Linked DNA regions of Homo sapiens: regions 2, 3, 4, 5, 6 and 7 are each linked to region 1. The links are contacts of gene promoters, found by promoter capture Hi-C in blood cells and fetal thymus (Javierre and others, 2016). All regions are on one chromosome and are shown on one strand. The core of a region is centred on a gene start or on the middle of the fragment in contact, and the rest is flanking DNA. Distances in the headings are between cores, read along the strand shown. Region 1 holds the start of MARCKS (myristoylated alanine rich protein kinase C substrate). Region 2 overlaps LAMA4 (laminin subunit alpha 4). Region 3 has its middle 37 kb from the start of RFPL4B. Region 4 overlaps LAMA4 (laminin subunit alpha 4). Region 5 holds the start of LAMA4 (laminin subunit alpha 4). Region 6 overlaps LAMA4 (laminin subunit alpha 4). Region 7 holds the start of LAMA4-AS1 (LAMA4 antisense RNA 1).

The links. Contacts are between HindIII fragments. The CHiCAGO score rates a contact against its expected background, and 5 or more counts as called.
Region 2: a fragment that was not itself captured here is called in contact with the fragment with the promoter of MARCKS in region 1 in 2 of 17 cell types (non-activated CD4 T cells and naive CD8 T cells); the score reaches 6.3 in non-activated CD4 T cells.
Region 3: a fragment that was not itself captured here is called in contact with the fragment with the promoter of MARCKS in region 1 in 2 of 17 cell types (total CD4 T cells and total CD8 T cells); the score reaches 5.8 in total CD4 T cells.
Region 4: a fragment that was not itself captured here is called in contact with the fragment with the promoter of MARCKS in region 1 in 1 of 17 cell types (non-activated CD4 T cells); the score reaches 6.3 in non-activated CD4 T cells.
Region 5: a contact is called between the fragment with the promoter of LAMA4 here and the fragment with the promoter of MARCKS in region 1, in 1 of 17 cell types (naive CD4 T cells). The highest score is 7.6, in naive CD4 T cells.
Region 6: a contact is called between a fragment that was not itself captured here and the fragment with the promoter of MARCKS in region 1, in 2 of 17 cell types (non-activated CD4 T cells and naive CD8 T cells). The highest score is 6.8, in non-activated CD4 T cells.
Region 7: a fragment that was not itself captured here is called in contact with the fragment with the promoter of MARCKS in region 1 in 2 of 17 cell types (naive CD8 T cells and non-activated CD4 T cells); the score reaches 6.9 in naive CD8 T cells.

The regions. Positions count from the first base shown.
Region 1 is chr6:113,855,658-113,859,379 of GRCh38, reverse strand. It overlaps MARCKS (myristoylated alanine rich protein kinase C substrate), which reads right to left and starts at 2,035. Exons shown (of 2, transcript NM_002356.7): 1 at 1,533-2,035. The coding sequence starts at 1,634. RefSeq lists enhancers at 1,954-2,003, 1,791-2,334, 2,335-2,880, 3,151-3,200, 3,221-3,280 and 1 more and a silencer at 159-488. The HindIII fragment of the contact is 4,373 bases long and covers 1-3,166 here.
Region 2 is chr6:112,215,567-112,219,309 of GRCh38, reverse strand. LAMA4 (laminin subunit alpha 4) reads left to right here. Exons shown (of 39, transcript NM_001105206.3): 3 at 2,841-2,942. Among named protein-coding and RNA genes, the nearest start is that of LAMA4-AS1, 19 kb to the left of the region's middle. The HindIII fragment of the contact is 1,937 bases long and covers 1,500-3,436 here.
Region 3 is chr6:112,308,929-112,312,496 of GRCh38, reverse strand. No RefSeq gene overlaps it. Among named protein-coding and RNA genes, the nearest start is that of RFPL4B, 37 kb to the left of the region's middle. The HindIII fragment of the contact is 1,172 bases long and covers 1,466-2,637 here.
Region 4 is chr6:112,164,429-112,168,243 of GRCh38, reverse strand. LAMA4 (laminin subunit alpha 4) reads left to right here. Exons shown (of 39, transcript NM_001105206.3): 13 at 2,968-3,084. Among named protein-coding and RNA genes, the nearest start is that of LAMA4-AS1, 70 kb to the left of the region's middle. The HindIII fragment of the contact is 481 bases long and covers 1,608-2,088 here.
Region 5 is chr6:112,252,819-112,256,447 of GRCh38, reverse strand. LAMA4 (laminin subunit alpha 4) reads left to right here and starts at 1,881. Exons shown (of 39, transcript NM_001105206.3): 1 at 1,881-1,989; 2 at 2,157-2,492. The coding sequence starts at 2,298. The region is part of intron 2 of LAMA4-AS1 (LAMA4 antisense RNA 1); the gene reads right to left. The HindIII fragment of the contact is 4,256 bases long and covers 1,007-3,629 here.
Region 6 is chr6:112,197,554-112,201,534 of GRCh38, reverse strand. The region is part of intron 5 of LAMA4 (laminin subunit alpha 4); the gene reads left to right. Among named protein-coding and RNA genes, the nearest start is that of LAMA4-AS1, 37 kb to the left of the region's middle. RefSeq lists enhancers at 1,806-2,308, 2,309-2,812. The HindIII fragment of the contact is 4,372 bases long and covers 1-3,981 here.
Region 7 is chr6:112,233,901-112,237,868 of GRCh38, reverse strand. The region is part of intron 2 of LAMA4 (laminin subunit alpha 4); the gene reads left to right. It overlaps LAMA4-AS1 (LAMA4 antisense RNA 1), which reads right to left and starts at 1,273. Exons shown (of 3, transcript NR_121193.1): 1 at 1,231-1,273; 2 at 953-1,090. The HindIII fragment of the contact is 159 bases long and covers 1,268-1,426 here.

The DNA.
Region 1 (3,722 bases), core at 786-3,285:
GGCTAACCATGCCAGCCCTCGCTTTATCGGGGGCTTGGGGGAAAAAAGGTGCCAGGGACTAGTTGACACAGCAAACGCCCTTTGGAAGAAGGCACAGAGCCAGAGCTGGTGGTTCGCGCCTACGTTTCACATCCCTCTTTCGCCCTAAATACATAAAGGCCTCTTCAAAATACCAGGAATTCCCAGGGGGATCACAGCACTCGAGCCAGGAGCGCCCGCGCGGGGCCCTCCGAGCTCCTGCGCCCACCCAGGCCTTTGGCACCGGCAGGGGGCGCTGTGCCTCCACCGCGCCGCGTTGGGCGCAGGCAGGCGAGGAGGGGCGGAGTCGCCGGGCCACCCCGCCCTGCCCAGCCGGGCCCTGCCCGCAGGCCGAGGCGCCCCCGAGCCCGGATCGCGCAGCCCAACAGTCCGCAAACAAAGCTCAGGTGGTTTCCTGGCCTGCCGGTCGGGCTGAAACCAACAAGGCAGGGGGAAACCCATTATTTCTGAGGTCTCGCCTCTGCTTCCACGCCCACCTTCCCCTGCGATTCTGCGAAGCCTGGGCGCGCCTCGGCGGCTCATTTTGCATTTTTAACGGGTTTAAAGCCTCTTGGCAGACCTCGCTTTCCCCAGTAGGTTAGAGCAGGCGAAGCGACACGATCTCTTCTCTAGGAAAAGAGGCGTGGTGGGTGCCCAGTGTTTGCGAAGCAGCCACCCATGGCCGACCTCTCGGGTCCACCCAATCGTGGCTATCTGCCTGGGTCCGGGCAGCGCCGGGCGGCCCCTCGCGGGTGGTCGAGGCGCCACGCACAAGAACAATCCCGACCGAAAGGCACGAACCGCCTCTTTTTGACCATCTGGAAAGGTTCTTAAAGGACCCACCGAGTGTTCCCACCCCACAGATACCATTTAAAAATCAAATGGATGTGTAATTCCACAGACAGCTACGAATAAAGATTTAGGACAGTGGGAAAGCCTCATCAAAAGGTACCGAAGCCCTCTGTCTGGCCCCAGCCAGCCACCTTTCCAAGAACCCAGGGCACGCCGCCGCGGCATACAATAAGACAGCCTTTCCCTCCTCGCCTTTCTCCACCACCATCCCCATTGCGCCCCCCTTTCCCGACTCCCCCCCCCGCCACACACAATCACACCACCAGTTCAGAAATCTCGAAGACAATCCAGCTTCGACAACAAACCCGAGAGACACCCAAACACCATTGTGCCCCCAAACACAAATGAAACCTGGCTGGGGGCGGGGGAAGGAGGGCACCTAGCTAGTCACGTTCTGCCAATCTCCAAACCACGCCATTTTAGACGATTTATCACTCCTTTCCTCCCGTCTACTCAAGAATTCTCCAGGATTCTAAGGAACCACTCCTTTGGTGTGGGGGGACCCCGGCTATGAAAAATCCACAATTTAGGCTATCCATTTCCATTCAACTTTCAGACTAGAATCCAGCCACACTCCTCTCCACGAATGAGCCTTGGGAGCCACCAGGAGGGAAGGAGAGAAAGACACGAAATAAATGACCACAACCACAGGTAGAATTTACCTGTCCGTTCGCTTTGGAAGGCGACGAGGCCACAGCCGCCTCCCCAGGCCTCTCCGCGGCGGCTTCTCCCTTCGCTGCGGTCTTGGAGAACTGGGCACCCATGCTGGCTTCTTCAACAAAGAAACTCAACAGATCCAAGAGGGGAAACAAAGAGCCTCGGGTTGGTGTAACGACGGGGCGAGCAGCAGCAGCAGCGGCGGCGGCAACAGCGGCAGCGGCACACACACCGGAGGGAGGGGGGTGGGGGTGGTGGAGAGGACAGAACAGAACCGATTAAATACACTCCGGATAAAAAAATTTTAGTCGAAGAGATCAAAAAGCAGCAGCACAGGAGGGAGGGAAAAAGGGTGGAAAAGTCGAGCACAAAAAAAGGAGCCCAAGTGTAGTTCGAAAAAAAAAGAAGTAATAAAAAAATCCCAGATTTGTAGCCGCACTGTAGACAAGAGGAAAATGGAGAAATCTCCCTGGTTGCTAATAAGATGCGGGGTCCAACGCCCAAGTGCACAGATGAATGGGCTCGCGGGCGCTGACGCGGCCCCCGCGCGCGTCGGCCAATCCGCGCGCCGCACACAAAGCAGGGGGCGGGGTCTGCGCGCCTGGCGAACAATGGAGCCGCGCTTTGCAAACGGTTTGAAAATCAGCCTCAGACCGAGAATTAATGTCCTCCAAATAAATAAATCAATTAAAAAATACATGGCACTCGTCTCTCTCTGCTTGAAAATAATAATGCATTTCTTGATTGGCTTGCTTTGTTTGGAATTAATTAACACGGGAGGGGGGTACTTGTGCATCGGGGCGGAGAAAGCGTTAACTTGACTCGCATTGACTCTCGTCGGTCTATATCCGTGTGTCTCTCTCTCTCCACTCGCTCCCCTCCCCCATCTTTCCGTGTGTTTATGTGTATGTGTGTGTATGCGAGTGTTAAAGACAATGGTTGCGATTTGTGTGTTTGCAGCATGTTTTCTTTCTTTTTTCCATATTGGTTTTACAGATAATGCTCAGGGTTTGTTTTTTGAACTGCTGCAATGGTTAAATCGTCCCAAATTGAAAGGTATTTAAACCACGAAGATCGAATTTCATCAAGCGAGATCGCAAGTTAGAATTAGGTCTGTAGGCCAGATGTGGAAAATGCAAAAGCGGCAAACAGCGAAGCCACACTCCCTTCCCTCTCCCACATTGGCATGAAATAAAATATTTTGAGATTGGCCTTGGGCGCTCAACAAATTCCCCCTTCTCTGGCTATTCCCAATTAGTGATTTTTTTCCCCCACAATTCAAAGTGAGAGCCATTTACAGAAGATCGAAACTCTTCGCGTTTTATCACTGTTTTAAATGACATAATTTTCCTCTATGGTGAAATGAGACACAGCCTCGAGTAGACGAATCCATATTTACAGTTGGGATGTTATTCGCGTCAATATGGATCGTTTTCAGCCTACTGCCAGAATCGAATGGACTCTTTTTGAACGTGTGTGTGAGTGCGCACGCAGGCGAATGTGCTCCTGAAAGGAAGGGAGGCAGCAGCAACGATGACATTCTAAACCGGATTGCAGTTCTAAGGAGAAATGTTCTGTATGTTGAGAGATAGCAAGATCCCTGAGCTCTCCAAGTCTAACTTGGGTTAGAGGAAAACCTTCTATAATGGTACACAGGATACCTCCATCTGTCACTGCACTCCTTGCCACCGAAGTACCAGACGCTTTTTGTGCGTGAGAGACAAGGCACTGACTTAAAGTATGAGGGGTGAGGGGAACCAAGGAAACAGCTTAATAAGCATTTTCTTCCCAAAGTTTTCACTCGTGGCAAAATCAGACCACCTTTTCTCGTTTACATTTGGTGATCTTGCAAGGAATAATCTTTCGCTTATGAAGGTGAGAAGCAGTCGAGGGAATGGTTCATTTCTCCTGGTGCTGGCTCTGAATTCTCAAACAGTTTTATTTTCTGCTCATTGTAGGGAAATAGGTCACACTCTGAGTGAAAAAGACGGTTGGTTCAAGCCAGTAACTCTTTGTTCAAGCGTTGCTTTAAAAATCACCAAGCTGAACATTGTTACGTGAAGCTTCGTCTTCTCACTGTCCAGTTCCTTCAGATGCATTATTCGACCATGGTCATATTCCCCAGAGCTGATGTAAAGACGTTTCCGTAGAAATGCATCTTGCCAGCAAACGTGTTATTACCCTTAAGAGAGCCC
Region 2 (3,743 bases), core at 1,219-3,718, 1.6 Mb after region 1:
TTCAGCTTTCACAGGCCTCTAAATAGCACAGGTGTTAGAATTACTAAGGATAACGATTACATTAACCAGGAGCAAAACTAAAAATACATCGTTCTACTTTCATACTTGGAAATATCGGCCTTTTGATATTACAAAAAGGCCAATTTTGCCAGGTCCTTCGAAATTTCAAAGAAAGATTCAGTAAAAATAAATAAATAACAGGACTCACTGGAGCCATGATGAAATATTTCCACCTAAAGGAAACAATCTTTAACAGCTCATCCTTCAGTACACTCAAACTTCTCTTGAACCACTTAAAAACTCCATTCCAGGGAGTCCTCCAAAGTTCCACAACACCAGACGCAAGCTACCCAGGACATGTGCTCTAGCAGGGCATGCCCAGGGCCCCCAGATAGATGACTGAAAAATATAATTCTTTCAGGTGGACAAGGCCCAGCAGGAACGTAGTGTGCCAGGTTTCCCTGCCAGCCCTCCTCGCCCTCTCGGCGGGGGGCCAAATGACTCAACACAGCCCTGTTCGTACCTCCCTTTTCTTCCCATCTCCCACATTATAAGAGATCAGAGCCAAGTTATCCTTCACCCAAGGTCATAATCTCAGATTGGGGAGTGGTAAGTGGATAATGACAGGCTCTCACAGTGAACTCTCCTCCTAAACTTGGCACATCACAAAGATTTCATCTTGCATGCTGTCCAACCTAGGCACTGGCTGCTGGACTGTTGACAAAGAGTTGAGATGAAATCCACCCTTAGGAGAGAGCAGTGGATGGATTATCAGTATATTCTGTGGGCTCCCAATAGTATATATGTCTCCAGTTTGCTGTCCTTGTCCAAACCACCCAAATCACCAAGAGTTCATTGAGCAATTAATATATACAAGGCATTGTGAGAGATGCTTCCAAACCTGGCCAAATATCAGAGTCTTTGGGGAGCTTTTTAAAAATGCAGATCCTTCACAATTTTTCTGTAAATCTAAAGTTATTCTAAAACACAAAAGTTATTTTTTAAAATGCAGATCCTTTGGTTTCACTGAATCAGAAGCTCCCCAGAAGACTGTAATATGGTCATTTAGAGAGCTCAGAAACCACCATTTAAGAGGCTACTAAGATAACTAATATTAAGACCGTCACTACTCTTACCCACTACTCTTATAAAGAAAACCCTGCAGTCATGCAAAACTGCAACACATTCATGGGTCATCAGATCAATTTTATGGGTCATGACCAGGATATACTCTTAAATACAATAGAGAAGTTTTAGGTACATTATTACTTTGTGAATCTTTTCTCTGAGACACATATATATGGATATCTATATCTATCTCCATATCTACACCAATATAGATATAGATACCAATCTGTGTACTGCATCACAATGAAAACATGTATGTTTTACTTTGCGGCAAAGACTAAAAATGTGAAATTAAATGGTCTAAATTAAATGCTTCCTACTGCAATCTTAGTGTCTTCCCTCTCTTGTTTTCTAGTGGAAACTAAGAAGCTTACCATCAACCACAACTCTCCATTAAAAAATTATAAATTGATCTTCTCTTAGCCTTATTTCTCTAACTTGGAAATGTGGAATTTCCTTGCCTTTTTTTCATAGACAAATGTTGTTATTCTTTATTAAACTTCCTCCAAATGGGGTTTATTAAATTTTAGTTTTAAAGTGTGAACTGATGTGTGTGTTTTTTTTTAAATACTGTGAATGGTGTTTAGTGACTCTTTCTTTACAGAGTAAAAAGCAAGGGGAAATAGGTTTGCATAGCAATCAGAGGGACTTCAGCCAGATATAATGAAAATTTCCTGGTCGCCAGGGAAGTGCAAACTACAATGGGTCAATGGGGGTGTATGATGTGAAATCTTGGACTCTGTAAGTCTGTGGAAACAAAGCAGATTCTTATCTGTCTGGAATTCTTTAGACATAAACTTGTCTGATGGGCGGGGAGCGGATTTCCAGGCCCATAATGCCATTTCTGCCCTTCATCACTGAGACATTCCAAAGAAATATCAAATGCATATCCACAGCCTAATCACATAAACCAGGAACAATCTCATAATGTGTCTCAAATGGCACACTAATGATATCTGGGGAGGGCAGCTGATGATTGTGCAGGTCAATTGGTGCATGACAGGATAGTTTAACATCCCCAAAAGCCACTTAGCACCTCTCAATCTCATGAGCTCATCACTAGGATAAGGGAAAGTCATGTGTTCCTCGCAGCATTCTGAAGACAAATGAAATACATATATGAACAGCACCCACACAGGACTTGACAAGTGTAAGAACTCATTAACTTCCTTATCCCTCCCTTTAACATGTTAGCATCTGAAGAAACAGATGCTTTTAAGAACTGAAGTTCATGAAAGACTCAGTTGCTATCCTATAGCTAAGTTGCTCTCCTATAGCTAGTGATTGCTGAAACGAGAAGTCTTTCTTTATTTATAGGGAGCATGACCTCACCCTGACTAATACTTAATTGTGGTCTTGTTTTGTTTTGCTTATACTGGAAGAAAACATTAGCATTTTTTTCTCCCTTACTGTTACGTAATACCTTCTTATTCTTCCTTGCAATGATAAGACAGTGTTAAAGGCATTTCTGTTCTCCTGAAAAGTGAAAGGAGGGAAAAAGTTATGTAACAAAGAAGATTATATATACATCATCTATCACTGAATGGTAGTATAAATAGTTTATTTTAGTATGTTTTGTATGTATCATTTAGTATATTCATTTTAGAAATGTTTAGATTGTTTAATAATCACTTTCTCTGATTTCTTCTCAGAAAATATTGACCAAAATCAATCTTTTCAATAATCAAAATGGTTTGGTGTGTCTGTTGCAGAAATGCAATGCTGGATTCTTTCACACCCTGTCGGGAGAATGTGTGCCCTGCGACTGTAATGGCAATTCCAACGAGTGTTTGGACGGCTCAGGATACTGTGTGGTAAGTTGGGGCACCTATAACACTTCACGTACTTCACTGGGCATTTGCATCTTGGGTGAAGATAAAATATTTTTCGGATGTTTGAGCCACATAGGAGCAAACTGCTAATCAAGTGCTTTTGTTCACCCTTCAGCTTTTCCTGTGAAACAACTCATATAAACTACTTCTGATTTTAAGGGTCCACCAAGGCATATGCATGAGTGTGCACGTGCACCCGGAGGCTCCTGCCCCACCACCCTCAGCAGCTGGTTGCCTGCTGTAGACCAATGGCGGTGGGATTGAAAATGATACATAGAGGAGGAACCCATACATCCAAATTCCTCTGTAATCGTATAGTTTGCCATATGTTTGGCTTCGTTCCACATAAACCAGGAGAATGAAACAGTTGTTGCCTAGCCTATTTTAGAACCTAAAATAACCAGGTCTATAGATCAAAATTAGTTTTTAAAAAAGAAATTTAAGTTTGAACCCAATAGCTGATGAAAATGAAAGCTTTGCCCTTGTGGTCTTTGCAAGTCTGTGTTTAAGCCCCCAGGAGACTATTTTTTTCCTTAACTGAAATGAATTCTCCAATAGACTGTTCTTCATTGAAGCATGATAGAGCCTTGTGCGAAAGATTGAGAAGTCTTCCAGCAGAAAAGTACTTGCTACATATTTCCCATTTTTAATGAATGGACTGACAACTTAAGTGAAAATGGGTGTTGAAATATTTACCAGAAGTGGCTTCAGTGGAAGTCATAGAGGGCATTTATAAGAACTTATGCTCAAATAGCATGTTTTCCTTCGTGAGCTGTGTGATAC
Region 3 (3,568 bases), core at 802-3,301, 1.5 Mb after region 1:
GTTTAAACCTCCATATTCACTGTTAAGGGGGTGAACAGTAAAATTAATCGAGAAAGCCGAGTTATTCTGCCAAGGAGACCCATTTGAAAGTGAAATAGAGGTCAAAACCCTACTCTAACATGGAAATTGGAAACCGCCAGATTTTTCAATGCTCTGATATAGTTCAAAAAGGGCAGAATTGATGGATTATTAACTATGCCAACTGGCATCGTGGAATTTATGTTTTCTTTGTTATGTAAAATGTACAATCATAACAGAAACATCAAAAACCTGAGAAGGTTCAAGGAAGGGCATAAAACAAATGTAATTCAAATTTTACTGTAATAAATAAAACTAACAGCAGAGGGCTCCCCTCAACGCCTGGCAAATTCTCAAAGCAGAGAAACTACAAATGGGGCACGTTTCTGGTAACCTCTGGTTCCATTCGAAATTTTCTATACATAAGAGAAAAAAAAAACAACTATCCATTAGTAAATAAATTACAAATACAATATTTAGACCTGCAGGTGCTAAAATTCCTTTTTCTCTTTAATTTTGTTTTCCTCACTGTGCTTTTTGCTAATCAGAAACTATTGAAGTTATTAATGCAATAATTCAGAAGGTTCTGGATGTAAAATGCCCAAAGACAGTAGAGGGATTTCTATAGCCTCTCTAAAGTATTTCAGATTATCCACCTGATTACATAAACAACATTTCCAGAAAATTGCCATTTTTTTAACCTATAATCCTGGTATCCAAATGTAGACATTACAAACGCAAGGGAGCTGTACTCAACAGCTAGGAATCTTTAATAATTTGAGGCCTTGAGGAGAACTGACATCTGGTGAAACACCAAAATGGTTTCAAAATAAATCAAAATACTATTTATACTTTTAAAAGATATTTTGAAAGTATTTTGAGTTATTTACAGAAAACAGTACTCTATATAGTAGACTCTGTGTAGGTCATCCATGTTTTCAACCAGCTATTTTTTTATTTATTATGGAAATATGAGTTAAAGTAGCCTTTGCCTCAAAGTGTTGTCATTCATTTTGCACTTTGTCCATAGAAAATGCAATGATTTTTTTCAAAGGCCAGTTTTGTTGTAGGTCAATCAAGCACTCATTTGAATGCTGATTTATTTTTATGGAGATGCATATTTTTGATGGCTTCTTTGGATTCATCACAAGGTATATCACTAACTACACTAGGAGTCAGCAAATTATAACATAGTGGGGGCCAAACCCAGCCACTGCCTGTTTTTGTACGGCCTGAAAGCTGAGAATTATTTTTACATTTTTAAATGACTGCAAAAATCAAAAGAATTCTAACATTTTATAACACATAAAATTATATAAAATTCCAAGTTCAGTATTCATAAAGTTTCAAATTTCATCAATAAAAATTTTGTGGAAATCTGTTTTCTTCTCCTATTATGTAAGTACTTACATGATACTCTCAATTTTGCCTCTTGGCCCACAAAGCTTAATTTTTTTTTTTTCCATTTGACTTAATACAGAAAAAGTTTGCCAAACTCCGAACTATGCAAAATGCCAAAACCATTATTCAATGCTCCTTGGGTTATTTAAAATAATGCAAGATTTGCCCCTTTAACACTATAACCTAATCATCTGCAGCACTGGTTCCCAAAATAATCTGTACTTTGGAATTACTGGGTAGCTTCAAAAATTATTGATGTTTGTGTCCTTGCCTGAGATTGTGACTTAATTGGCCTGGGGAATAACCTGAACTTTTAAAAGATCCCCAAGTGATTCTACTGTGAAGTTTGGAAACCACTGATTTAGTGCTTTGGCAAGTTCAATCCTCCCAGCTTTATCTGGGCGCTCCCTTCTACTGGCAGCCCTTTTTGCTCTTCCTCCAGCACATGGCCCTCTGCAGCTAGCCCCAATTCCCCCAGATCACTTAGGCCTTTCATTCCCACCACCAGAGCTAAGTGACCTTCTCACCAACTCCACTGAGAAGATCAAGGCCAACCCATCCCCAAGTTTTCTTGTTTTACTTCCTGAATGAAATTCTTCCCTCAAGTCCATTCTCTCCTCTCCAGTCCTTCTAGAGGGAATACACCATAGTGGCTAAAAAGGAGTCTTCAATCAGGCAGACATGAATTTAAATCCCTATTCCCATAATCCCAGCACTTCGAGAGGTCAAGGCAGATGAATTGCTTGAACCCAGGAGTTCAAGACCATCCTGGGCAACACGGGGAGACCCCATCTTTACAAAAAATTAAAAATAAAAAAATTAGCCAGGCATGGTGGCATGGTGGTGCCCACTCATAGTCCCAATTACTCAGGAGGGCAGATAGCTTGAGCCCAGGATCATACCACTGTATTGCAGCCTGGGTAAGAGAGCAAGAACTTGTCTCTAAAAAATTGCAATAATAACAATAATAATAATAATAACCCTATAGGGATTTTTGTGAAAATTAAATGCTACTCACAGTGTATTAAATTAAATGTTACTTACTGCTACTTACAGTGTTGTCCTTGGACTAACATCTTCAGCATCACCTGGGCACTTGCTAGAAATTCAGAATCTCAGGTCTCACTCAGACCTTCTGAATCAGAATCTTCATTTTAATGAGATCCAATAGTGATTTGTGTGCACATGAAGGTTTGAGATTCGTGGTGCTAGGAAGCTTTTTATTTCTCTTCACAGTCCACATCCAGGCTGTTTCATCCTAGCCCTTCGACAGTTCCCAATACACATGATATTGATGATGCCCTAGAGTGTGGCTTTTACGTAGAAAAGGAGATTTGCTTGAGTTTAAAAAAAAATTAATGTCAGCTATGTATAGGACAACTTGAAATGAGAAGAGACTGGGGTGGGATCGAGGTGGTTAGGAAATACAGTGTCACCTTCGTGCAACTTAGGAAAAGACACTCCCTCTGAGCCTACAGGACCCCATGCACACCTGGTGAACTAAGACAGCCCTTGGGCAATTGAGAAAATGGTGCCCCTCTGGGTTGACACCACCCTGTTTCAGAGCAGGTGGCTTGCCAAATGCAGCAGGGCCTCAGCCAGTTGTCCTCAGGCAGTGTGTGGCAACCATGCAGAAGGAGGATTGGATGGGATCCTGAACTAGGGCGTGGAAGATTGGAATGAAAAGCAAGGATGGATTCTAGAAAATGCTGAAATGGTGGAGGGCAATGGGGGAAAGACAGGGAGGAATGTGGACCTGGGGTTATTAAGGAAGACTTCTGGGAAGAGGCAAGATTTGACACAAATTCCAAGAGTTTGTAAAATTGAGGTGTAGGATCAAATATTCAAGATGCTATGAACAGGATGAGGTTATGAGAGTGAAGACATTTAGAGAACGTCAGCGGTAAAGCACCATATGGCAGAAAGAACAGTGGACTATAATCAGGGAGGTGGTATTAAAGAGTCTCAATTCATTCAGCTATAAATACAAATTTTATTTTCTTCCAATAACTGTCCCCAATAATCCCAGATCAAATCCTCCCTAACAACACCTGAGCCCTATTCCATGTTTTCTTAGTCTCTTTGTTTCATTTAGATTGCATGTTGTATCTCATTCAAAACTTCCTTTCCCTTTCCCTAGCCAGGGGTG
Region 4 (3,815 bases), core at 599-3,098, 1.7 Mb after region 1:
TCTTCTATGTTCCTGTCTAGGAGTCACTCCTTTTTTTTTTTTTTTTGAGACGGAGTCTCGCTCTGTTGCCCAGGCTGGAGTGCAGTGGCGCGATCTCAGCTCACTGCAAGCTCTGCCTCCCGGGTTCGTGCCATTCTCCTGTCTCAGCCTCCTGAGTAGCTGGGACTACAGGCACCCGCCACCACGCCCGGCTAATTTTTTGTATTTTTAGTAGAGATGGGGTTTCACCAGGATGGTCTCCATCTCCTGACCTTGTGATCTGCCTGCCTCGGCCTCCCAAAGTGCTGGGATTACAGGCGTGAGCCACCGCGCCTGGTGGAGTCACTCTTGATTGCTGAATGCATAACTCTGTGTGTGTGTGTGTGTGTGTGTGTGTGTGTGTGTGTGTGTGTGTGTGTGTGTGATGGTATGCATCTAGTCTAACCCCACTAGACCGTGAGCATCCAAGGGCAGCACTCCAGCCTTGCACAAATTGTATCTTCCTAGCACCAAACACAATAACTTGCATTTGTTACATCTATTGATGAACAGATGGATGGACAAATGCTTGGAGCACTGTCAAGTAATACAGATTTGATTTATGTACACTGGTTCTTCATGATCACAAATACTCTTATTTCATATTAACTTGGACTTCTAAATTACTAAACACTACTTTCACCATTCTTTTGCATACTTTTGCAAAATATCATGAAATTTTAATTCCTTCCAACAAAATTTAAAATCCAATGTTTTATTTATAGTCTTTCCTACGACAAATAGATTTGAATGGATCTGACCTTACTGGAATTTGACTCTGTGTTTTAGAAAACAAACTTAAGTGGGTTTGTTGTTGTTGTTTTGAGACACAGTCTTACTCTGTCACCCAGGCTGGAGTACAGTGGCACAATCTTAGCTCACCACAACCTCCACCTCCTGGGTTCAAGCAATTCTGTTGCCTCAGCCTCCCAAGTAGCTGGGATTACAGGCATGTGCCACCACACCCGGCCCAAATTTAATTGTTTTAATTTTACATTTCACTATTACACCTACAGCATGGGCTAGAAAAGAATAATCCCCAAATTTCAGTTATCATACAAAACCAAAAAAGTACCCACAGAGCTTAATCATTTTGACATGTACCAACAGTAGCCATACAACTAGCAATTACATTATTTTGTCATCTTACCTCTATCTCCAAAGGGTAACAGAATGATTAAAAACTTATCAGATGAACATGAGATTGTATAGTTTAAAAGTAAGTAAAATACTCCTTCAAAAGCACTGTTTAGGGATTACTATATACCCAAGCTTTACCTTCCCAGGACTGTTTTTTGTTGTTTTTGTTGCTGTTGCTGTTGCTGTTGTTGTTGTTGACCGTGGAACTTTTTCTATTTTTTTGCATATGTAATATGCACAGTGAAGCATGCTGAATAGTGACAATTGTGTCATTTTCATAATTATCAGTTTTCAACATTTTACTTTGTTCAAGTTGACCACTTTTCTGTGGAAATATCTTTATTTGTTTCAAAGCTAATTTTATTCATTTCTGTCTAATGCTATATACGGTAAGTGGGAGAAACTCATTAACTTGAAGCATATTGTTTTTCATCTACTGCAAATAAGCTTATATACAGTGCTATTAGCACACAGCTTTGAAGTTTGTCTCTGACTTCAGGGTGTTAGCAGTGTTCTCCCGCAGTCACCCAGAGAGAACTTACAGAAGGGGTAAAGAACACTGTAAAAGGAAAACAGTTCTGTGAGAGGTAAATAATACCAACCTTTTTTCAACTCCCTTCTTTTACATATTTTAATACACATATTTTACAGTATTGCTTTTGCTGTATAACTCCCAGTCTTTGTAAAGATAAGAATAATTGATCTCAGATAGTCACACTGTATTAGGCTTGATGGATATTCAGGGAAAATTGTTTCTTTAAAAATGTTCTTGCATTAAGAGGATGTTCAAATGTGATTCTTTTCTGTCTCTAGACCTACACCTACCCCATAACAACATATCTGGAGAAGATGGGTTCCATTCTTCCTTTTCTTTAAGCCAGAAAAGACTGCAGGGAGTAAGAAAGGACATTAAGATGAACTTAAAAAGCTTTAAAGTATTTCCTTCTCTATCTAGGCTTCTATAATTATTTCTATGATATTCTAGATTACACTATAATGTATATTTCAACTCTGACTTGTTACTATTTCTAAGGTAACTTCAACTCATTTTTCACTCAAATTGTAAAATGAGTCTTTTACTTTTCCCTCCTAAAGTTTCTTTCTATGTTTCTTTCAAACTCTAAACTCATTGGAAGCCCCATAATATTTCTTCAGAATCACAATGTCCCTGCCTCTAGAACCTAAAAGTGATGGTAGAAATTAAAGTACTCATCAAGACATGTATTAGTATTTACTTTCCCTTCTCAAAACATCTGAGCATTTACAATAAAGAGCTCTGAGAGGTATGAAGCAAGATTAAAATTTGATGCTTTAATAGTAGGGCCATTTTTAATTTTTAAAAGGACATAATAAGATTATTTTTGTATATTCTCTGTTCCTGTCCAAATGGGCTGTTTGTGTCAGGCCCAAGGCTGGCACATGATAAATACTTTTTGAATTAATTCATATTCCAATCACTGCAAATATAGAGCCTGTGTTCAATCCTTTCTCCATAGTCCTCTTTTATATTCTGGGAAAAAGAGACAAATGCCCTCTCTAAGGCGCTAGCTCTCTTTGAAATGACGGTGTTATAATAATCCTCCGTATGTCTAATCTCCCAAGATTCTTACTGTTGTTATCTCTGTATTATAAATGAGAAAGCAGCATCAAACAGGTAGCATTCCCCAAAGGCACACAGCAAGGATGGAGCTGGGATATGAACCCAGATTTGTCTGAGTCCAAAGAGAGCAAGTTGACATTTACTGCTCTCCCCAACGCTTTCCCTAAAGACATATTCACTTCACTCTCCCTTACTCTTCCTTCCCGCAGAAACAACAGGAAAGAGTGAGGGAACAAATGGAAGTGGTGAACATGTCTCTGAGCACATCTGCGGACTCTCTGACAACACCTCGTCTAACTCTTTCAGAACTTGATGATATAATAAAGGTAAGGACGCACGTGACTTGTTCAGGTTTGTATTTCCAGCAGGTTACAACAGCAGCTCAGTGTCACAGAATAATAATAAATTCATATCTAACCAGTGAGCAGGCATTATAAAGATCAGATGACTGAATGTTTTAGTTTCTTGCACTGTACGATGACCACCAGCCACATATGACTACTTAAATTTAAATTACTTAAAATTAAATAAAATTAAAATTTTAATTCTTCAGTCACATTAGCCACTTTTCAAGTCCTCAGCAGCCACATAGCTAGCAGCTACTATATTCAGTGGCACAAGCATTGTGCAGAAACAGGCATTGCGCCACTGAATATAGTGGAACTTCTTGCAGAGAGTTCTATTGAAAATGCTGCTCTCGATCCATCCTACTCACTCTTCACTCATAAAGTTGTGTTTGATAAATCTGGCATTCAAAATCAATAAAAGTCACATTTTGTAAAAGTAGAAAATTTCCAATAAAATGCAGTGAACTGAACTATCATGAAATTACTCTTAGTTCATTTTATTACCTTTCGAAAGATATCACTTTAAGGTCATTTGATTGTCCGTTGACTATTTCAGCACCAAACTGTCTTTCTCTCCAAACTGACTCCCATCACTCTCCTTGGTGACAGCAAAATCCATATGGATGAAGTCACCGACTCTCTGACCTCCAGCTCCTTGAACTTGCCCTTTCCAGCAAGCTTATCCTCCAGTCCACCTCTGTTTTCCCACC
Region 5 (3,629 bases), core at 632-3,131, 1.6 Mb after region 1:
TACTATTTTAATATTTTAAAATCAAAATATCACTTTAAAACCTATAGGAATTATTTTTGCTTCCTTTGGCTTTGGTTCTTTTGTATCATACAATTTTATCATTTAAAATCAAAGATCTTACCATCAGATTTACCTGGGCTATAGTAGTAATTTTACCACTTACCCATGGCCAAATGTGTATGACAATCCCTACTTCATGAGATTATCATAAAGATGAAATTAAATGAGACAATTTTTTTTTTTTTTTTTTTTTTTTTTTTTGAGCTGGAGTCTTTCTCTGTCACCCAGGCTGGAGTCAGTGGTAAAATCTCTGCTCACTGCAACCTCCACCTCCCGGGTTCAAGCAATTCTCCTGCCTCAGCCTCCCGAGTAGCTGGGACTACAGGCGCCTCCCACCATGCCTGGCTAAATTTTGTATTTTTAGTAGAGACGGGGTTTCACCATGTTGGCCAGGCTGGTATCGAACTCCTGACCTCATGATCCACCCACCTTGGCCTCCCAAAGTGCTGGGATTACAGGCATGAGCCACCACGCCCAGCCCTAAATGAGACAATTTATGTGATTTTTTTGCACATGGGAGGCACTCAAAAAATAAAAGTGTCCATTTCCTTCACCTCTGAATTCATACTCTTTATTTTAAAGTTGCAGTGTCGTGTATACAGATGTAAAAGAGAGCTTTGGAATCAGTGAGGCCTGGATCCAAACCCCATCTCTGCTTTCCACCAGCTGTGCGACCTTGGGCAAATGTCCTAGTCTCTCTGAACCTCACTTTCTTCTTCTGTAAAAGGAAAATAATGGTACTACTTTGCAGGAATGCTGAGGTTTACAAATAGCATATGCCAAGTATCTGGCACATGTTAGGTGCAAAATAAATGGTTTTGCTTACACTTAGATAAAATGACTTTTGTTCTATGAAATGGAGCTAATGATTAGGTTTTATGGAAAGGCTTTATTTATTTATTTTATGATTAGGTTATACAAAAATGCTTTATTTCACCTGGAAGCTTACCTGGGTGTCATTTTATGGTTGTCTCATCTGACCATTTTTAAACCATGGTTGGATCTTGTGGAAATGTTTAGAGCTCGTTATGAAGCCAATGTAAACAAAGGTACCTATCAGCTGTTGCAGACACTATCCCATCCACAGGGGCACCCCTGACATAGCTGTAGCCCAACTTCACCCTGAAGTCTTGGAAAGGTTACATGATTCAGACAGATGTAGTAGGCATGAGATTACAGGCCAAGAGGAAGAGGCCGGGGCTGTAGGCAGTATACTTGACAGGCTCATACACTGCAAGCCTTGTTCCGGGCCCCTTACAAAGCACCTCTTTAGGATGAAAACAAGATGGTCTTTGTAAATAAAAGTTCATGCATTTGGGTAATGAAGTCATTTTCCAGCGCTGCAGTGAAAGATATTCTTCTCCCAAGCCCTCTGGGTGAGGACTGGAGGGAGGAAGAGGGGTGGCCAGTGAATCTGAAGAGAAGATATTAGCACAAAGAGTGCAACAGTCTATCCCCCAGAAAAAACCCGAGAAACCTTGCTCAAGAAAGTGGGCACCCTGACCCTCTGCCTTCAGAGATCATCTACCTTTGGTTCCTGCCCTGGAATCCCTTTTCCACCCACTTTCCTGCAAACTAGCGGGGGCCACATAAAATATCTATGTAAATATAGATAAGACATCCGGTACCTTGACTACATAAATAAGAGTGGTGAGGAAGCGTCACAAAAGCTGAATATTCTTCTGGAGCCCTTGGAGGGGCTCCAAACTGAGAGGGGAGGGAAGACCGCAGGGAAAGGCGGACCTCAGTGTCTGAAAAGCCAGCTTAGAGTGGGAGGGCCTGGGAGTAGAAGGTAAAAAGGGAGTGGTGAGAATGAATGTGAGAAGGAAGCCAGGACAGCGCAGTCCCCAGTCCCGAACGGCCAGGGAGAGGAGGTGGCCTAGCGCTGGCGGGGCTCACCCCAATCCGTCTGCCTTTTGATGCCGTACTGTAAGCTCCGTCCATCTGTAGGTTCTTGAGCCAGAACCTCTGCGGGAAGGAGAAAAAGTGAAAGAGGGAGAGGGAGAGGGAGAGAGAGGGGGAGAAGGGGAGAGAGAGAGAGGGAGAGAGAGGCTGGAACTCTCCCTTACTCTCGCACTTTCCCTTTATTTCCTAAGCTGCTGGTTGCGCAGCCACCTCGGGATACTGCACACGGAGAGGAGGGAAAATAAGCGAGGCACCGCCGCACCACGCGGGAGACCTACGGAGACCCACAGCGCCCGAGCCCTGGAAGAGCACTACTGGATGTCAGCGGAGAAATGGCTTTGAGCTCAGCCTGGCGCTCGGTTCTGCCTCTGTGGCTCCTCTGGAGCGCTGCCTGCTCCCGCGCCGCGTCCGGGGACGACAACGCTTTTCCTTTTGACATTGAAGGGAGCTCAGCGGTTGGCAGGCAAGACCCGCCTGAGACGAGCGAACCCCGCGTGGCTCTGGGACGCCTGCCGCCTGCGGCCGAGGTACAGTGTCCCTGCCATTGCCACCCTGCTGGGGCACCTGCGCCCCCGCGGGCTGTGCCACACTCGTCCTTCTCTCTCTCTCCGCCTCTTTCCTCTCCCCAGTGCCTTGAGAGTTTCACCTGGGCTAGGTCAGTTCGGAAACTTGAAATAAAGAGTTTTCCTTTGTAAGTTGCATTTGGATGTTGAGAGTTGAAAGTTGAGGCTTCGGAATGTGTCTGCTCAAAGGGGTGAGAGTGCATGTGTTGGTGCTCTGAGTTCATCCGCTAGACTCTCACCGGGGACTGCAGCAGCACATCGGTGACTTCTGCCACTTGCGTGTCCCAGTAGTCATTTTGTCAAGCCACGGCACTTAACGTGTGTGCCCTGTCACTGGCTTCCTGCTCCTCTGTGCTGTTAGGACAGTGGGAACACTACTGCAGGATCTTTTTGTCTCATATTAGACAAGAAGTCTTCTGCAGCAGGGAAGGTGAGGGGGTGAGTGAGAGTGGCTGGTCATGAAAGGAGCTGTTAGACAACTGCTGAGAGGGTATCTTAAGTAGAAACGAGCCATTGTATTCCAGAAACAAGATGTTTCCATTAAAATCAAGCCTCAGGATATGCTATTGATAATATGTTTATTCAAAGAGCTGCTGTTTGAATACCTTACAATAGCTTTTAAGTTGGAAACAAAACCAGAATGTAGAGGTCTGGTAAAGGAGAATGAATCCAGAACAAGTGATTTAAGAACCCCTGAACTGAAACAGACAACAGCATGCCCATTGCATGGGACATGCTAAGAGGGAGGAAAATAAAGTCACCTAAGTTCATGGGAAAGGAAGGAGCAATTGACCTAGCAAAACAAACACCACACTCTATAGCTATGGTTACAGCAACTGTACAACTAAAACAGTTATGTGGATTGACACCATTTCTAACATCACTGATGCATGGATTATTGCTATGAATTCTGTTAATTGTTAGTACAATTATAGTTATTAATTATTGATGATTAAAAATAAGGTGCATGAACATGGTCCTTCTTCAGAGTAAGCCCTACCCACATTGCCCCAAAAAAGAGAGTGGACAGGGTCAGAATATGCCAACCTCTCACTGTGGTATAAAATGTAGCCTCCATGAAAAAGAGGGAGCATGGCTTCT
Region 6 (3,981 bases), core at 910-3,409, 1.7 Mb after region 1:
CCATACTCCCATTCAGTGGGTCCTGAAGGAGATGCTTAAGAGTGGTTGAGGGACTGCATTTCAAAACCCCTTAGGGAAGTTTTCCTAAATCCCATCCCCCAGATACAGCAAATAACAATATGCTTCCTAGGGCTTCAGGCCAAGGCCACATCTCAGGATAAGCACACAGGGAAAAAGGAAATTGAGGATGTGTATTTTGAAAAGATTCTCTAGATGGTTTTGGTAGTACTCTTTTCTCTCTCCATCAATGAGAAATAGTACTAAAATTAGTGTTCCCCAGAAAAGAGTGAGGTTTCCTCAGTAAATAAAATGTGAATCACCTTTTGTCAATAGAGCAATAAATTAGAAAAAAACAACCCACAAAGCTGTTATTTCGCCCATTCTTTATACCAGCTTTATACCATACTAAAAAGTAAACAAATTCCACAGGAGTTTAGGTTTTCTGGATCTCTGGCTGGTATTTACATATGACACTCTTTTCTTTTTTTCCTTTTTTTTTTTCAATTATATTTTAAGTTCTGGGATACATGTGCAGAACGTGCAGGTTTCTTACATAGGTATACACGTGCCATGGTGGTTTGCTGCACCCATCAACCCGTCATCCACATTAGGTATTTCTCCTAATGCTATCCCTCCCCTTGCCCCCCACCCACTGACAGGCCCCGGTATGTGATGTTCCCCTCCCTGTGCCCATGTGTTCTCATTGTTCAACTCCCACTTATGAGTGAGAACATGTGGTGTTTGGTTTTCTGTTCCTGTGTTAGTTTGTTAAGAATGACGGTTTCCAGCTTCATCCATGTCCCTGCAAAGGACATAAACTCATCCTTTTTTATGACTGCATAGTATTCCATGGTGTATATGTGCCACATTTTCTTTATCCAGTCTATCATTGATGGGCATTTGGGTTGGTTCCAAGTCTTTGCTATTGTGAATAGTGCTGCAATAAACATATGTGTGCATGTGTCTTTATAGTAGAATGATTTATAATCCTTTGGGTATATACCCAGTAATGGGATTGCTGGGTCAAATGGTAATTCTGGTTCTAGATCCTTGAGGAATCACCACACTGTCTTCCACAATGGTTGAATTAATTTACACTTCCACCAACAGTGTAAAAGCATTCCTATTTCTCCACATCCTCTCCAGCATCTGTTGTTACCTGACTTTTTAATGATTGCCATTCTAACTGGTGTGAGATGGTATCTCATTGTGGTTTTGATTTGCATTTCTCTAATGACCAGTGATGATGAGCTTTTTTTCATATGTTTGTTGGCCACATAAATGTCTTCTTTTGAAAAGCACATGACACTCTTTTCTCTCTTTTTCTAAACTGCTCTGGGCTTTGCTCATGTAAGAAAGGCCTTCTCCACAGAGCACGAGAGGCTTTCCACTGAATGACTCGGTAAGATATTTCCCATTCCCTCCACCTGCCAGCTGCTCGCAGTGTTGTAAGATAAAATGGCTTTTGCTCAAAGAGTCTCTCAGACAGGTTTTCTTGTTTTTAACAGAAATGCCATTAGCATTGGCCTCACCATTGTGTTTAGGCAGCTAAACGATATGTAGTGCCCTAGAGACAGGGAAGGAAGAGCCAAGCGGAAATAGTCAAGCACCCAGTCACTCATCTGCAGGCCCTCAACAGCACAGATGGGCTCACAAACTCAACCTGGGGCTTAAAATGTAAACTTTAAATTATAAGCAATCTCACTTCCAAAGAAAACACCCTCTATCTCTCAAAAAGTGGGTCTGAAACTCAAAAAAAAAAAAGCCACAGTATCTGTGATACAGAGAAAAATCTTTGCACTTGGAAGGCATTGTTATTATGATTATTAAATATGCAAAATGTGGATAATTATTTCACTAAAGGATTGTGGATTTTTTTGAATTTATTTATTTATTGCCATAAGAGGGAAAGCGAGCTTAGGGTCCACATGAATTTCATCTATTAGGAGGGACTGACAGAGATGATCGATTACATTGGGTTGATTGAAATTTGTGACACACTTATCCTATATTTCCTTACTTGGAGACACAGGAATAGGAGGCACCTGATTTACTCATTTTCTGGCTCACTGGAGGTCTGTGGCGGTTGTTAATCAGCCAGGATGGAGTTTTTTCTCCTCAGTGTCTGAGGTTAAATTCAATTTAGTTTGATAATGACCAAGCAGTATTGCTAATGGGTGTTCAATGGCCCCCACGGGGAGAGTTAATGGCCTTAGATAGAGCCCTGCTGACCAAATGCAAAGCTCGCAGAAGTGAAATCACCTGGACCCTAAGGGCACAGTCCTGTAAAATCACACAGGGGTGCAGAGAAGGGTTCTGTCATCCCAAACCATCAGCAGGACTGCACGCCCACCTCTGACAAGGAATTACAGATGATAAATGCCTCAGCCCACATAGGATGCTCATGAGCTCTGCCATTACCCAGTAAGGCTGGGTCAGATCTGCTGCTGGAGTGGAAGGCTCCAGACAAGAGCACTGGTTTGGAAAGTGAAAGTAGAGTGTTGAAAAGAAGAGATTTGAGCATTAGCCTGGGTGAGTGTGAATCTCAGCTCCACCACTTTGTGACCCACCCGGGCAAGTTCTTTGACCTCTCCAAGTGGCAATTTCCACTTGTACAGAATGGAGAAAATAAAGTTACCTGTCTCATAAAACTGTTATGAGATAATACTGCAAAGTTTTGAGTGTGGGACCTGGCACTGAGTAAATGCTCAATAAGAATTAACAGGTGACAGTATGAGTCATGGTGGTCATTGTCCAACTTCTGCCACTGCCGATTGTGTTCCTGGGACACGTTGGCTCATTTCCCTGAGTCTCGGTTTCCTTAGCTAGAAATTACAGCTCTGAGCTAAATAGTGCCACTGATTAATTATCACTTATGTCCTTGTTGCTTTACATTCTTCATCTGTCATCTTCACAGCCACCTTAGAGAAGGTTGTATTTTGTCATCTTGCAGATGAGGAAACTGAGCCAGAAGAGCTATGTCTTCCAAATTGCGGTGGTCTTTGCTGCTTTTGATTTGTTTGACCCTGGGGTTAAGAGGAGGGTTTCTGCTTGAACAGCCAAGCTCTTAAGTTGCCTGAGTTAACCTTCGCCTAATCTGTGCTTTCAATGTATTTGTGAACTTGAACCTCTCCAAAAGAGCTTTTCTAAATATGCAACTGATTTGTATGGATATCTGTTTTAAACAAAGGTAATAATTAGTCCAAACCAAGAACCTGCTAGGTCTTTTTGCACTTTAGAGATCATTGAGTCAAGTGGTGGTTTTAAAATCTGTGTCCAACTGTCTCCAGGAAAACTTTGGATTCCTGAGCCCTCCCCAACTCCCCTTCACCACCCACTGAAAAAGAATATCCAGGGCTGAGGCCCAGGACCTGTATTTTGACTTCCCGTCGGATTCTCATGCACCAGGACTCTCACTGCTTTGTGAACTACCGCTCTACCTTGACCTTCAATACCACACTCTCATACTAGGGAAGTATTTCTCAAACCGTGACCTAAGAACCTTGGTTGTCCTTGGAAATGAAGGTTCAGGAGTTCTCAGTGAATATTTTCCTAATTTTATGTTTAATTTTAATAATAACTTTAAGGAAAACATTCATTGAAACATGTTCTGGACTTTCTGCTGTGTCACGTTATAATAAGAGAAGATCTCCCTCAGTGCTGGGAGAAAATAACAGAGGTGACAGTCTGTCAATGACACATTACAGACAATTGGAGGTCAAGTGGCATGACATCAAGGCAAACTGTAAAACTAAAGATTCCAAAATGAAAATTGGTGAGAGACATGAGTCGTCACATGGCACATGGCTGGATTTGCATGCTGAACACAGGCAGTCTCTACCACATCATTTTGCAAGTGGACATTTGGTTATAAGACAACATCAATTATTGAATTAATGTGAATCTGAAATTGATTAGTTTCATAGTTTTATTTATGTTGTATTTGAAAATTTATTTTGGTTTTCAAGACATGTAAAAACC
Region 7 (3,968 bases), core at 98-2,597, 1.6 Mb after region 1:
AGGATAACCCATGTCGTGCATTGGTAACCATCCAGGAGGGCCTAAGGAGGCCTGGATTTGGATGCTAGCTGTGGTCTGGAAAGGAGAGAACAGATGCTGGGATCATCGCCAAGGTTCTGTCAAGATGGTTTGTCATATGTTTGAAGAGTAAGGATGAAGGAGAAGTCAAAGTTGCTGCTGATGTGTGTAGAAATGTATTAAATCATGGGAGAGAAGTCTCTGCAGAGACCTTTCAACATAAAACCTACTAAATCAGTGGCTCTCAGACTGAGGCTCCATGGAAATGCCTGAGGGTTCAAGTCCTCCGGAGCAGCGGGAGGTTGCTCCCTACCTCCTTCAATCACAGCAGCCTCTTTTTTATCTGTTTTATAGATGAATTTCACATGAAATTTTACTGGTTTTTAAAAAAGGGATTCTCTGCTCTAAAATATTTGAGAACCACTATGCTGGGGCCTCCCAAGCTGATATTCTACATCAAGACTAGTCTCCAAAATGTTACTCAAAATCTTATTCAAATCAGTGCCTCCTAGGCAGTTTCCCAGCAGTACACACGTCTGCCTTGGGCCAGTACTTGTCACTGGTTGCATTGAGCAGCTGATGCTCAGAGCACCCCTGTAATAGCTCCAAACATGAGCTAGAAATCTTTAAACAATTGGTGCTCTCCTGAGAGATATTTTTATGCTTCCTGTTCCCTGTCTGACGGTATTTTTGGCCCTTTTCAAGGAAATTAGGAAATTCCACTTTTGTCTCGGTCATTAACCTGGGAGTACTGAGGACAACAACAAAGGAGCTTCGGAGAGAGGATAGGATGGTAGTGGGTAGACCAGATAACCACTATCATTTGATCTTCATAGGAAGGACCAGATGTTCATTCAGTTTTTATTCTTCTAAACCAATTATTCCATCGCAATGAATATCATCTTATTCTGAAACATAAACCACAGTTTCTTACCTGCACCCTGAGCTAAAAAGATAGCTCTCAAGTCTTACTCTCTCCTTTCTCGATACAGTAGTTCACCCCATTTGTGGTCCAGAAGCTGTTTCCAGTGATCTCCAAAGGGGAAAAGTACTTCCATGATGAACATTATGTCTATAAAAATCAAGAAAATAAGCATCAAAAACTTTAGTTTTCCATGCGAATTAAAAAAGCAGCAACCTAAGCATTTCATAGTGTCATGAAGGCAAACTGCAGCTTGTTTTAATTTGCCTTATAACATATCTGCAGTATACCTGGGGAGAACTGATGTTCTAATGAATTAGGAAAGCTTCTTTTATCTCCTTCTACCTGTAGCTTGAAGACCTCAGCTTTTAAAAAGCTGTTGATATTGAACAACTGTTAAATTGGCAGTTATTCACAACTGCCAAATATTGGAATTTCCAATGACTACTGACTCAGGTAGAAAATAGTGTTGATACTTATTAAGCTTTCATGATTTACAAAGTGTTTTCCTATATATTTCCACCTTTAATCTTCACAACCATCTTACAAACCAGGCAGTCCGGAGGTTATTCATCTAATTTATGAAAGCATGGAAATGTTAAATGATAAGCCCAAAGTCTCCTAGCGTGGAAACTTGTTGAGACAGCAGGAAGTTTCACAGAGTTCTAGACTGTTAGAATGTGAAGAGCCTGGAAATCATCATGCTGCTAACATCATTGAAGAGGAAGAAACCAGAGCTAGAAGTTGAGTCACTTCCCCAAGTTCCCACACAGGGTTTCTAGAACTGGAACCACAACCAAGTTTCCTGGCTCTGAGGTCAGTTGTCTTTCTCTACTGCATCACAGAGCAGGGACGCCGTCACGGGGGTGTTGAGACATTAAGTGAGCTGGATCAGACAAGAATATATCCATGTTTACCTTCGCCTTATAACTTATGTAGTCATCTGTGTCCTGGAACTAAGTAATTCAATTGCTAAAACGTTGAAAGTTCTCTTCGCCTTTGGTCATTATATTTATCTCAATTTTGAATTTAATTTATAACCAAATCATGCATCCCATTTCTTTCATTTCAAGCATTTTTTGCCTTGGCCCCATATGCTATCAACCCCTTAAACCATGCTCTCAGCACCTATACTTAGAAAGTAAGCATTCAAGTGCATTAAAATTTCAGAATTTCCGGCTAGAGTTTTCTGGTGGTCACATAAAAATAAACAAAACATCCTTGATCTTAAAAGGAAGAAAGAAAGATCTATTTCAAAAATGAACAATAACATTTTTGTTTTAAAAGTTTAAGAATTAATTTTTAAAATTCCTAGACCATATCATGTCTGGTATTCCTCCTGTACACAGTGATCGGTCAGGTTTCCACATGACCTTAAGAAACTTCCCTATCATGTACCAAAACAATTGAAATGTGAGAAATTAATGAAGAAAATGAAACGTTGATAGCACCAAAGTGGTCCACTCTGGCACTTGTACCCCTCCATGACCTTGTCAACCTGATTTATAACAATTCTGAGTTTCAGCAGCTCCATTTTTATATGTAGAATTTTTCTACTGTTAATGTCACAGGGAAATCACCCTAGTCTTCTAACAGCAAAAAAATATATATAATACCTGTTTCTCGAGAAAATCTGCCAATTCCCAGCAGAACTACAGAACTTTATGATATAATCCAGGGACTTTGCTATGAACAGCATCTGCTGAGATATGCCCTGAACCTAATAGAGGACAAGGAAAAAGGGGTATTTCAGGGGTTTGGGGCAGCCCCACATGGTCTGCAAAATAGGAAGGTTTTTGGGAGGCAGGACAGTTCTAACCCTGCCCATTCCATGGTCCATTTTCAAAATGGTGGGCACTTTCACGCCTCATTCTCACCCTAGTCTTTGATGTCAGGAGGATCCTCAGTATGGTGAGAATAATACTGTATTTAAGATGAAGCTGATGTCTGTGTAAGGTCAGAGTAATCATCTTTATGAGTATTATCCGAAGATATTTGGATATCCGAAGATATTTGGATATCCAAAGATATTTGTAAGGTTCTCCAAACTTCTAGGTTTTTATTAAAGGGCTGGGCTCTTCCTGGTCTCAAACAGTATTTGTGGTTACTTTGGCAGATGAAGCACATTTTTCCTGTGCCCTATGTTTTTGGACATGCAGTATATCAAAGTGTTCGGTGGAAATAAGCATTCTGTTATTTTTTTCTTAGCACATTTTTTGTCTTCTCTTCCATTCAGTTATGTTGAAAGCTACGTGTTGGATCTGTTTTTTAGTTATGACATTAGATCTTCATCTGAGATTATCTAAACTACGTTGGTTTTCTTTTGATTACAATCTCTTTTTTTTTTTAATCTGCTAACACAAGCTCATGTTTATCTAGAAAATGCGCTTTCTCCTCAAAGTCATGAATCAGCATGAATTTCCTTTGAGTTAGTTCAAATCATCCAGAAATTAACAAATTTCAAAAAAGAAAAAATATACTAAAATGTAGTCAAAGCTTTATAAGAATACTTTATGTGCTATATCTCAGCTAGTCACTGAGTAGCTGTCATAAACCTATGACATAAACCTACTGTCATATACCGATGACAGTAGAGTATTGAAAAACCAGGTGCACCAGGTTCTTGTTTTCATTCTTGATAGGTTCTAAGTTCATTAAACCAGTCTCGCAGTTACTCAGAGAATCACAAAACCAAGTGTTCCTCTTATTATCTTGCTTAGCTCATTTTGGGTAAAATGCATCAAACGGCAGAATGAAAAATAAAAAAAAAAATTTGTTTTTATAGTTGAATGACGTTCTTCCTATGTATAAGTTATAACTTGAAAATTATTACTGCTTCCAAGATTCCTAACTTTCAAGCCACATGAGAGTGACTCATGGGATCCTGGTGGCCCCAAAGGATTAACAAGGCTTCCAGATGTGCCTAACACTTATTTCAGGAACTAGGGCAAGCCTCCAATATTATCTACAATGTGTGGAGAGAGGGTGGCGTGTCCATGTGAGTATACTGTAAGCCAGAAGGTTGCTG